Linked DNA regions of Homo sapiens: region 1 is linked to region 2. Evidence: promoter capture Hi-C in human tissues and cell types (Jung and others, 2019). All regions are on one chromosome and are shown on one strand. Each heading gives the region's core, a stretch centred on a gene start or on the middle of the fragment in contact. The rest is flanking DNA. Distances are from core to core; before and after follow the strand shown. Region 1 has its middle 38 kb from the start of YIPF5. Region 2 holds the start of GRXCR2 (glutaredoxin and cysteine rich domain containing 2).

Evidence for each region. The method cuts DNA at HindIII sites, captures the fragments that hold promoters and counts their contacts. A contact is called where the count stands out against the background at its distance.
Region 1: a fragment that was not itself captured here is called in contact with the fragment with the promoter of GRXCR2 in region 2 in 1 of the 25 tissues and cell types used here (spleen).

What each region holds. Positions count from the first base shown.
Region 1 is chr5:144,128,808-144,135,623 of GRCh38, reverse strand. No RefSeq gene overlaps it. Among named protein-coding and RNA genes, the nearest start is that of YIPF5, 38 kb to the left of the region's middle. The HindIII fragment of the contact is 3,922 bases long and covers 3,588-6,816 here.
Region 2 is chr5:145,870,455-145,876,656 of GRCh38, reverse strand. It overlaps GRXCR2 (glutaredoxin and cysteine rich domain containing 2), which reads left to right and starts at 3,643. Exons shown (of 3, transcript NM_001080516.2): 1 at 3,643-4,024. The coding sequence starts at 3,689. The HindIII fragment of the contact is 8,071 bases long and covers 1,618-6,202 here.

The sequences.
Region 1 (6,816 bases), core at 4,299-6,798, 1.7 Mb after region 2:
ATTATAGTTTGGGGATAAGGACAGAGAGAAGTAAGTTTCCTTAGTCAGAGTTACTGTGAATCTTTTCACTTCTAATTATATCACCTTTAATGACAGCTTCCTTTTACCACTGAAGGAGATTAAATTTTCCATGACCTATAAAGTCCCGCATGGACTGGCTGCACAGCTGGCCTCTCCAGCTTCAGCTCATGTGACTTCCCAGCCCCTCACTGGTTACTCTTAGTTCTTCAAACACCCAGTTTCTTTCCTCTACTTGGATCAGTCTTCTCCCTGTTCTTGCCCTGGGCCACCCCTACCCATCTTTCAGATAGTAGCTGTCAAATCTCACTTCCTCAGGGAAGCATTCTCTGACCTCTGGGGCTACTCTAGGTCTCCTGACCATGTATGGTCATGCTACTCTGCCCTTTTCAACATGCTTAGTGCAACCACGCTTAAATAATTATTTGTCCAATCATGCATAATCACTTGCTTAAGGCTTATCTTCATCACCCAGTCTCAGTAGAGCAGAGACCTCATCTATCTTGCTACTGACTACCCGCAAAGACCAGAACCATGCCTACCACAGAGTGGATGCTCAATAAATATTTATTATATGTATAAATGAACTAAAGATAGTTTTTTAGACCTAGAAAAGTCCTAGGATAACCTAGTTCAATCCCCTAATTTATAGGAGAAACTAATGTCTAAGTAGGTTCACTGCCTTGCCCAAAGCCTTACCCAAAAGCAAAATTAGAGATAGAATCTAAATCTCTTCACTCTTCCAATACACTTTTCTTTCCTGTCCTGATGGAAATCGCCTAGTCTAGTGATTCATCACACTAGAGGAGAAAGCAATTTCTGGCAAGTTATTCAGGACTTTAATGAAGTTGCAGGCTTGTTTTATTTAATACTCAGTTTGTTTAAAATGAGTCCCATAGTCTGTGTTTGTTCCACCATTCCTCATTGCTGGATCAAATGTTAATTATCAAGAAGAAGAGATAATGTGGCAGTTTGGCAAGTTTTTGCTGAACTAGCAAATGTTTAATAGGATCACAGATGGAAGCATTTGCATGTGGGAGGGATTTTTTTTTCCCCAAGGTTTTGTTCTAATTAAAAGTTACCAGTTCAAACCAGGTTACCAGTTACAGCAAATAGAAGTTTGTGCATTCTAGAGCCTGAACAATGCTACTGTTTCTTCACCATATTCATCTCTTGCCTTTCCCACACTTGACAAGCTGAGAAATATTTAATAGCCACTAGGTTCATGAATAAAACAGAATAGTTACAAAGCTCTTTCATGATTGCCCCTGTGCATTGGACAAGCAGTGAGTTTTAAGGGACCAGCAAGAAGGAACATTGCTTGTATTTCTTTTTCAGTCTGTGGTAATAGCTCATTTCAGGTAACCATTAACTGAATGTCTTCCCTATGCCAGCACGGTGTTCGGTGCTGGGGATGTGAAGACAAATAGGGCTCCAGAAAAGTAGGGGAGAGAGGCATAAAATTATTTAATTTCTGTACAAAGTGCTAAATGCAGGGATAGAGGTATAAAGACGATGCTTTGGGAGCCTGGATTGAAAGGGCAATGGAGATTCCTTCTTCTCAAATGAGACCATGCCTAATCCAAAGTTTAAAGGATCAGAGGAATTATCTAAGTAAAGAGAGTGGAAAATAATTTCTAAGGCAAGGTTAGAACAAGAAGAGAGGCATGGAGTGGTATGTGTAAAAAGAACACAGGCTGAGCTACCTCAGAAGAGAGTACACTGGCAAAATAAAAAGAATAATAACAATAAACAAAGCTATTATGAACTGTCAAATCTCTATCATTATTTTCAACATATGTTAAATCAGTGCTTCCAAAACTTAATTTACATTTCATCTTTACAATTCTTATTGTAATTGCATGCCACCATTTATTTATTTACTTAATATTCTTCCATAAATCCATCCATTTTAGCCTCCCCAAGGGAAGATTATCAATTAAATCAGTGGTTTTATCTACTAGTTTTATTTTTCTAATACTTATTAAGATAAATACATAACTATTAAAATATAAAAATGCACGCCAACTGGAAACATCTTAAATCCAGCTTTTAGCCAAAGTAAGGGTCACGTGCCCCTGGCTGGATTTAAGTGAGAGGTGTGTGCCCCTGGTACTAGAGTAAAGAAGAGACTGGCTAGTTCATAATATGTTATGCCAGCTCAGCAGATTGATTTGATTAGGAAGGGTGATGTGGAGTCCAGCACAGCGCTGACTTTAATGCATGATCCCCACCATCAAGGTGCTGAATGATGGCTTAGATTAGTTTTCCTGTTCGTAAATCAGTAATGATACTGACAATGACAGGAATAAGAGCTATCATATGATGAGTGCTTGATGTGTGGCAGGCACTGCACTTGGCACTTTACATTCATTTGCTCATGAAATCCTCACAGCACTTTATAAGTTCTATTGTTATACCCATTTTAACAGACTCACAGAGATTAGATGTCTTATCAGAGTTCTAGCTTTTTGGTTAGGAGAAAATATCACAAGAAAGCTGCTTCATGTAATTGAAAGAGAACTTTTCCCAGACTTAGAAGGCCAGGGCTTTGGTGCCAACTCAGTCATTCATTCACTATGGACTGCAGAAGAGTCTCTTAAACTCTCCAAGCTACAGGTTCCCTTCTGTGAGGCGTTTACACTCAATGGTCTTTTAGATTATTTGTAAACTGGAGACTCTTCATCTATTTCCTTATCCGTAAAGAGGAGCTGGTAATACCAACCTCACAGGATTATTGTGAAGATTAAATGTGGGTAAAGTGCCTAGCCCTATAATTGACACCTAGTAGAATGCAATAAGTGGGATTATAAATAAAAATAAGATTAATCATAATCATCTTGATAACGACTTTGATAATCTTCAAAATAGATAATTTATCCCCAAATAAATATGAGTGAATTAATTATATCACCATATAGAAAGGAGTGTGCTAGCTGACTATCTTTTTAAGCAGGTCAGTTCAGTTTGATTTCTACATGCTTCCATATGTTTAAATCAGAGGCTGAGTACATACCCTTCACTGGTGTGGTAGTTAGCCTCCAAGATTATCCCCATGATTCTAAGTGCCCTTGGTAGTCTCCTTCTACATTAACAAGGGCTGACCTGTATAACCACTAAGATATTATGGAAATTGTGTGACTTCTGAGGCTAGATCCTAAAAGACATTATGGCTTCTGCCTTACTCTCTCAGGGATTGCTCATGAGGATACTCAAGAAGCCCTGTAGAGAGGCCCACATGATAAGGAGCCATGTGAGTGAGCTACCTTAGCTGTTGACCCTCCAGCCACAGTCAAGCTTTCAGATAACTGCAGCCCCAGCCAACATCTTGAATGCAATCTGCTGAAAGACCCTGCACCAGTACCACTCAGCTGGGCCACTTCCAAATTCCTGACCTACAAAAACTCTGAGATAGATGGTTGGGTTTTGTTAAGCCACTGAGTTTGGGGTAATTTGTTTTATAGCAAAATGAATTACTGCAAAGATTAAAGAAAATATTTTTTAACTGAAAGCATATAGTCTCAGTGGTACGTCTAATCCAGGCCACCAAGAAACTGTGAATGTTCAAAGGGAGGGCAGAAGGAATGGCAGAAGAGGCATGAAGATCTCTGCAGCACATGAGGGAAAGCCCTTTGGCTCTCTAAGAAAATCTTCCTAGTGGCAGGAATCAGCAGAAATTTTCAACAGGTTTTGCTCACCAAGTGTAGGGGCTCTTCAGAAGCAGCAGGGATGGCACCAAAGGAGATGCATCTGCAAACATATCAAATCTACCAAAAGTCTTTTCAGCAGTACCAAAGTTTAAGGCAATAGTTTGGAATGAGTCTTATTTGGACAGCCAAAGCTTCATCTTACCAGCTATTTAGTCCTGATGATTTTTGAATAATAAAATATGTTAGAATAATTTTCCACTTAGCAATGGTCATTCATGAATGGGCAGCATTACCATTCATATCCCTCTGTTAAAAATAGGCTCATTTTCTTGCTTTTAAAAAATCTCGTTGTATATTGTGGGCATAGATTTGGAACACTGTGAAACGTGGTTAATTTGGTAGCACTTTATATCATGCCATCTTGTAATAATGCCTCTTAGGAAACGGCCTTAAGGATATTATGCAAAAGGTACTTTGAAGAGGGTGGAGAGGAAGAGATTACAACTTCCCTTTTGCAGTCAGCTCCTGTCTCTGATGTGTAACCCTAGTGTCTACTGCCTGGTTTGCCTTTTTCTGTATTGTCCGTGTAAATACCATCCTGGGTCTTCTGATTTGAGAATCATTTTCTCCTACTGTGTTTTGGAGAAAATTGAGCATGTGTTATATCTAGTCCTGGTCAGTGTCATCTCCACCCCCTGCCTTAGCTCCTTTGGTCACCCTTTTTGAGAACCATTTTGCCACCACCTTCTTCCTTCATTTTCCAAAGCCCCATTAACCCCAAAGCTAGTCAACTTGCTGTGTATGGGGATAATAGAAAAGTATTCACCTCAGCTTAGACATGTCTCATTTTCATCATTTAGGTTTCCCTTTAAATGCCACTTTAAAGGGCTTCTAGGACCAATCTTTCAAAAGTGGATCCTGCCTAGTTATTTGCCAACAAAATACTCGGCAAATACCTTTCCTGCCATTCACTACAGCCTATAACTACATTTATTTACTAATCCTAGAGGCAGACTACATGAGTTCTAATCTCAACCTCACCATTTACTAGCTAAAGGGTCTTAGGCTAGTTAATTTTTTTTGTGCTTTAGTTTTGCATCTGTGAAATGAAGAGCTCATTGTTGTGAGGTTGTTGTGAGGATTAAAGGAGTTAATACATATAAAGCACTGAGAACAGTGCTTGGTGCATATTTAATGCTATATACATATTATAAATATTATAAATATTACTATTATTATTCTCCCCCTCCCGAGAACACAAAATCCTGGAAAACAGAGATCTTGTCTCTCTTTTTAACGTTGTAACCCCAGCTCCAAGCATATGGCCTGGCCCATAAGAAGATGTTTCCTTGCCAGAAATTAACACGGAAAGCCAGACATTGCTATTCTCAATAATTTACAGCAACCCCATCATGGGAAATTTCTCCATGGCCATGTTTTCTTGGATTCTGCCTGTCATTACTTTGCTCAGGCCCATCTGTCTCCTAGGCTCTCCATCTCTCCAGATGCAGGTGCAGACCCACATTTCTTGTTGTTTACTCAGGCACAAAAATTACAGCTTTCAGCTCCCCCTTAGACTATGCTTCAGGTCTATCCTTGCATATCCAAATACCGGATTTCTTTTCTTTTCTTTCTCTCTTTCTCTCTCTCTTTCTTTCTTTCTTTCTTTCTTTCTTTCTTTCTTTCTTTCTTTCTTTCTTTCTTTCTTTCTCTCTTTCTTTCTTTTTCTTTTTCTTTCTTTCCTCCTTCCTTTCTTTCTTTCCTCCTTCCTTTCTTTCTTTCTCTCTCTCTTTCTTTCTTTCTCCTTTCTTTCTTTTTTATTATCTATCTATCTAATCTTACATATATATGTATGACCATTAGCCATCAAAAATATGTGAATATGGTTCATCCCCTAAGAGGAGGAGACAGGGTATTTTTAACAACATTTTTTCTTCCTATACTAAATTATTTATTTCTATTAAAAAAATTATGTTATAGAAAATCACATCAAAAAACAGAAAATTAAAAATTACAGAAATCTATATTAGATTATATGCATAATCTACTAGAAAATATGGAATATTCAAAATTTTAAAATATAAGTTAAGTTTTCCCATAGATCCTCCATATAATATATATACAAAATCACTGTCAACATTTCTGTATGTTTCCTCCACTTACTTCTAGTCTTTTCTTTATGGCTTTGGCGTGTGTGTGTGTGTGTATGTGTGTGTGATAGCAGGGGTGTAACCAGTCATACTGTATCATGACCTTTTCATTCAAACTTCTGTTTTTAAAGTAAGTAAAATATTTATTTATATCCATCCCATAGATATAATTGTGCATCTACTGACTAGAATATCAGGCACCAGACAGAGGTTGACACCATGAATAGGACAAGGCCTTCAGATCCCAAAGTTCTTACCCATATACCACGCAGCCACAGCCTCCATGACTTCAGACTAAGGACTAGTGAAGAGTTCAAAGCAGTACCTCACAGGCAGGTTTTGTGTTAATTCCACATGGAGACCTCCCATTACAATCACAGACTTATTTCTTCCAAATGCACTCTGGTTGCTGCAATACTGAAAGGAGGTTTACCTGAAAAGTGTCTTCCTTCCTCCATGTAATGACTGTGCAGACTAAAGAGAATGGATTTTACAGCTCAGGCTAATTATGTAGTATTAACACAGTGCTATCAGGGGAAAGTCTGCTGCCTGCTTGTGCTAAAAAGTCCTCCCACAGCTCCAAACCTGTACACTGTTTGTGATGATTTTGATTTCCCAGCTTCACCCACACCATCCCCCAACGCAGAAACTCTCAAGAAGAGAGACTTTGCCTTCTTGGGTCACCATCCTCTGACTTCTTTTAGTTCCCTAATTATCCAACTCTTACCCTCCTCCAAGCTTTTCTCTTGGCTTTTCTTCTACGCAGCTGCTTTCCCAGAACTATTCACTCAGATGCTAGTCCACGGTCACGTTGAAGCTGAAATACCAGAGATCTCAGAGAAGCCCCTCCTGACCAACCTGTGCAAAGTAAATTTCTCTTATTATTCTTTCTCTTAGCACCTGGGTTTTTTATTTTGTCTTCCCATTATTGCACTTGTCCAATATTTGTTTGATTTCTTTTTTTTTTTTTTTAACACCCATAGAACTAAGGATCCTTT
Region 2 (6,202 bases), core at 2,394-4,893:
CTCACCTCCAGCTTTGTTTTTGTTGTTGTTACTGACATTCATTTTGGGGCAATTGAAAATGTTTACTTGACAAGTAGTTGTGGAAGTCAGCTCACTGGTTTTTCTAGATGAAGATAGGCTATTGGTTATTTATTAATATTTGTTTCCTGGGAGAGATAGAAGAAAATATTCTTCTAGTTAGGAGTTCCCAATCTTTTTCATGGCATGGCACACATAGAAAATAATAATTGTTGCATGCCTTGGTCTCAGCTACTCAGGAGGCTGAGGAGGGAGGATTGCTTGAGCCCAGGAGGCAGAGGTTGCAGTGAGCTAAGGTTGCACCCCTGCACTCCAACCTGGGCGACAGAGCAAGACCCTGTCTCAAAAAAAAAAAAAGGAAAATAATAATTGTTACATTTATATGTGTGTGTTTGTGTGTGTGGGTATGTGTGTGTGTGTGTATATATATATATATATATATATATACACACACACACATACAATTTTTTAAGAGATAGGGTCTCACTTTGTCAACCAGGCTGGAGTGCAGTGGCATAATTGTAGCTGGCTTTAGCCTCAAACTCCTGGGCTCAAGCAATCCTCTTGCCTCAGCCTCCTGAGTAGCTGGGACTACAGACAAGCACCACCATGCCCAGATAATTTTTAAAAAACTTTTTGTAGAGACAAAGTCTCATTTTGTTGCCCAGGCTGGTCTCAAACTCTTTGGCTCAAGCAACCCTCCTGCCTCAGCCTCCTGAGTAGCTGGGATTACAGATGTGGGCCACCATGCCCAGCTTGATATTGTTCTATACAGTGAAGTAAATGAATAAGGCTAATGTAGTCCTGGGGGACACCTGGCTGCCATGAGGGCTGAGAGTTCAAGGTCTCAGTCTCCTGTGATTCATTGATGGTGTGTCCCAGACAACTCTGCATCCTGGGGGAGTTACAATGTTATGAAAAGTGTATCTTTCTTTTTCTTTAAACATTGTTTCCCTAGTTCTTCTCTCCCACCTATTTCTGTACCAGTTACACAGGGAATTTACAACTGTGACACCTCTCCTTAGTAGAAAGGTAGATTAAAAAAAAAATCTTCTGATCCTACCTCTTCACTATTCTTTATTTATTTTTTTTTGATGGAGTCTCGCTCTGTCACCAGGCTGGAGTGCAGTGGTGCAATCCTGGCTCACTGCAACCTCTGCCTCCTGGCTTCAAGTGATTCTCCTGCTCTAGCCTCCCGAGTAGCTGGGACTATAAGTGCCTGCCACCACACCCTGCTAATTTTTGTATTTTTGGTAGAGATGAGGTTTCACTATGTTGGCCAGGATGGTCTTAATCTCTTGACCTCGTGATCCACCTGCCTCGGCCCTTCCAAAGTGCTGGGATTACAGGCGTGAGCCACCGCGCCCAGCCACCTCTTCACTATTCTATACAAAATATGCTCAATTCCTTTTTGAAAAGCTTTGTGTATTTGGTTTCTCTCACTTGAAGTCATTCATTTAACAATTACTGAGTTCTATTATGTACTGGGCACTTTGATAAACACTGGGAATAGACAGATAGTAAGGACAACTTCTGACTGCAAGATGTTCACAGTTGAATGGAGGGAAAAATAGGAAGGGCAAGGGAAAGTGAGAAGCATCTGAATGGCGGTAGGTCCGAAAGTCCCATGGCACTCTCCCTGGGGAAGGTGGGAAGGCTGCCCAGAAGCAGTGACATTTGAGGTGTGACTTGAAGGAGGAATGGAAATTTGACACTCTAAATCAGGAGACAGAGTACTGGATAAGAGACAGAAACTTGTGGGTTTGAGAAATGGGTAAGCTTGTTGGTGTAACTGGAACACCAATCCCAGGCAGCCCCTGGAAGAGTGACAGAGGGCAAGGCTGGAAAGGAAGGAAGGTGAGGCTGGTTTTTGAGGGGCTTTGCTTGTCACATGGAACAGTTAAGACTTAAGCCCTGATGCACTAGAAAAGATTTTTCAGCAAGAGACTGACACCTGTGGATTTGTTGTTTTGGACTATTGCTCTCACATCAATATGGAGAATGGAATTGGGGGTGAGTAGGGAAGTCCTTGGGAGACAGCTGCAACTTTAAAAATCAAAGTGATGAGGGTTTGCCCTAGGGCCAGGGTGATAGGGGTAGATGAAAGAAGGCAGTGGTGAAAGAATCCATGTGAATGGGCTGGGTGCGGTGGCTCATGCCTGTAGTCCCAGCACTTTGGGAGGTCAAGGCAGGCGGATCACGAGGTCAAGAGATTGAGACCATCCTGGCCAACATGGTGAAACTCCATCTCTACTAAAAATACAAAAATTAGCTGGGCATGGTGGCGTGTGCCTGTAGTCCCAGCTACTCGGGAGGCTGAGGCATGAGAATTGCTCGAACTCAGGAGGTGGAGGTTGCAGTGAGCCGAGATCGTACCACTGCACTCCAGCCTGGCAACAGAGTGAGACTCCGTCTCAAAAAAAAAAAAATAAAATAAAATAATAAAAAAAAAGAATCCAAGCGAATGGCTGTAGGGGAATAGGAGGGGTCAATTTGGGTAACTCAGTAAATGGTGATGCTGGTAGCAAAGACAGGGAGAAAGGCTTTACTCCACTTTCAGCTCCTCACATCCAACCTACCATTTTCTACCCAGCCCAAGGGCCCTTTTCTTTACAAACCTTCTTCCATCCTTGTCTCCTTAGAGACCACTTCCTTCCCAGAGTGGCTATTCTGGGATTCAGCTGTGGGCAGTTTGCTCTCTAAGCATGAGGTTATTATTTCACCTGTGTGAGGTCTGTATGGGATTGTAGGACTGTTCTCAGGCCCAGGTCACATGCTTCTGTGCTATTCACTCCAGCCACTAGTTCAGTGTCAGGCATTTACGAAGTCCAACAGGCAATGGGGACTTGTGCTGTGATTGCAAATGAAATCTTAAATGTAAAATACATACCAAGTGGAGGTGCTCTGGTTAGCGTAGGGGGAGAAGGCCCAGAATCCAGGACCCTCGGCCTTCTCCTGTTCTTAGCAGCAGCCTCCAAGAACCTCCACTGTATCTAGGACGTCATTCCCTCTTCTAGAACCAGAACTGGAAAACTTCTGGTTGTGTGGGCTGATCTTGGGTTTTGGAGTCAGATAGATCTGGGTTCAAATCCCTGCTCTGTCACTTACTTAGGTGTAATAGAGCAGACAAATGATGAAGATAAATGACAAGTGGCTCTAAGCCTCACTTTCCCCTGTGTAAAACAAAGGTAAGATTTTCTTTGTAGGGTTATCGTGAGGATGAAATAAAATAATGCATGTAACAATCTCTGGTACTTATGAAATGCTCACTAGATTTTAATTGTCATTGCTAACAATAAGAAGACACTTGTTAACTAATTGAGTGTCTGATCCTTATTGAATTGGCACATGTTCAGTCTAAATAAACTTCTTCATCCTCAGGTTAAGAAAGGTTAGGGTTGGGGTGAAGTCATGGTGAGCTTGGGATTATGAGAAGAATCAATCTTGTCTTATATTCCATCCACTCCATCAAACCAGAATCACCTGCCTTTTCATGAGGGTCTATCAATATTTAATGTATGGGTGTCAGTTGCTGTAAACTGACCATACCCCAGCAACAACTTGAATTAATTATATGCAGGAGGAGAGAAAATAAAATGCCTTTTTCTCAGAGGCCCAAGTTTCACCGGCTGCACGGAAGGCTGGAGACCACAGGGTCAACTTTCTGCTGATGGAGGACCCTGAGAAAAAGCTGAATCAGAAGAGTGATGGCAAACCCCGGAAAGTACGATTTAAAATCTCCTCCTCCTACAGCGGTCGAGTATTGAAGCAGGTCTTTGAGGATGGGCAGGAATTAGAGTCACCAAAGGAGGAATACCCTCACAGTTTTCTGCAAGAGTCTCTTGAAACAATGGATGGTGTTTATGGGTCTGGGGAAGTCCCCAGGCCCCAGATGTGCTCCCCTAAGCTGACTGCTCAGAGGATCAGTGTGTTTAGAGAGGGTAATGCCTACACCTTGGCAGGCGGCCAGCCTCGGTTCAACGATTACAAGGCGAATGACCATAAGGTTGGTATTGTGCATGGCATATAGGCTTTAAGGGTAGGGCTTCCTAAAACGTGTTTAGAGAAACTCCTAAATGGTTCAGATTTGTGTCTTGCTCCCCCTCCGGTACCAACCAGAACTGTTGGTGCACCAAATGGGAAGTTGTTATTAGACGAATATTTCTGGGGTAAAAATAACATGCTTGTTGACTACTAATTGGAAAGTGCAATGAGCATATATAGTATTCAAATTCCATCCAAGGTAATACATTGTAATTGGATCTTTGACTGAGTTTTCCTGGAATGTAAATTAAATAGAGGTGCAGTGGTTTTCAGGTTGTCAGACTGCGGTTTTAGACAATTATGCAGTCATTTTGTTTCCTGAAAGAGCTGAGTATTTGAAAGTGCTCATTTTACTCCAGCCAATTACTCAGCTTGCAGTTTATCCATGTCTTGTTTTTTACCCCTATTGCCTTCCTCATACTGCCTGCTTTGTCTATTTATTTTTCCTTTCCATTGCTCCTTAGCATAAGCTCTGGGTAGTTGGAGTCCTGGGAAGGGATGGTGAAACGCAAATCAGCCAGAGGATATGTTATGTGAGGAAGAAGTTTGAGCTAATGGTTCGATTGAAGAATGTGTTTAATCTATGAATTTCAATTACTTCCCAGTACCATGGATAATCAAAAGTCCATACATGATTTTCTTTTAAGGTAGAACCTGGAAAACATACACTGGTATCCAAAAATTCATAGGAGATGTATATATGCTGTCAGTGGGACCATGAATGACTTCTTAAAAAAGATAAAATACAATTATATAATGTATCCACGTTATTAATGAATAGCACACCAGGATGTGTTCTCATCTTTAAAGTGTGAAAGCCAGATAATTACTCTTGAATTATTTTTATTGTTAGTTTCCTAAGGGAATAGATAACACATCTATTGCAGACAAATGTATTACTGGCTTTACTGGCATTGGTAAAAGTATAATTATGGGCATGTTCACAATTACCGAAGATAACACTAGGCTTGTTTTTGATATTAAAAGGGGCTGAAATGAATGACCTCTTATCTTAATGGGGTGACGTATGCAGTACAAAGTGTCATCATGTACTATCTCTGTCTATATCTATGGCATTGGGTCTTTACTATAACCTTGGGGAGAAAGGCCAAAGTATGGTCATTCCCATTTTGCAGAAGAGAAAAATTGAGTGCCAAGTTGTTAAGGGATCCATCTGATACTACAGGGTCATTGGGTACAGAGTCAGAATAAGAATCCAGATCTTCTGATGCTACAAATGTTTTGCTTTAGGGCATGTTCCTTTTTTTAGAGAACCATATTATTACATAATAATAATAGCTACCATTTGTTGAGTGCTTATTAGGTCCTAGGCACTTGGCTAGTCTTGTACTTATACTATTTCTTTTTAACTATGTCTTATTTGTAGATTTAGAATTTACAAAGTCACAGTTCATGCAAACCTTATGCAAGGCCACAGTAGATAAATTTTGGGTTGCTTGATCTTCATAAGTCATGTGCTAAATTTAGCATTTATGAAAATGTATAATTTTTTTTTTCTTTTTTAGAGACAGGGTCTCATCTGTCAACCAGGCTGGAGTGCAGTGGTATGATCATAACTCACAGCAATCTCAAACTCCTGGGCTCAAGGGATCCTCCTGCCTCAGCCTCTCTGGTAGCTAGGACTATAGAATTTATAAATCTAGGTAAATGAGTCTTCATGGCAGCATGGCTCAGTTGGTTAAAACACAGTACTCTATGTGTTTTAGAGGCCATGTTGAAGGTCTGATTCCTGCTTGGCCTCATTATCTCTGTTTTCTTTGTTTCCTGATCAAGTGCCCCATCCCAATCATAGCCAGATTCTGAGCATGAGAGTGACCAGGATGGATTCATGTAGCTGCACACCCTGGAATCATTTGTCAATGTGGTATTTATGAAAAAGAAGAAAATGAGAGCTAATGTCATGACTTTTCAATAACGAATCCAAATGTAAAACACTTCCTAGTAAATATTGGCTATGAGACCACATTGGGTAGCAATTAAGTGCAATAATTCAAAGCAAGGGCTCTGAACTCAAACAGATATATGTACAACATTGTTCATAGCAGCATTATTCTCAATTGCCTAAAGGTGGAAAGAACCCAAATGTCCATAGACTGATGAATGGATAAACAAGATGCGG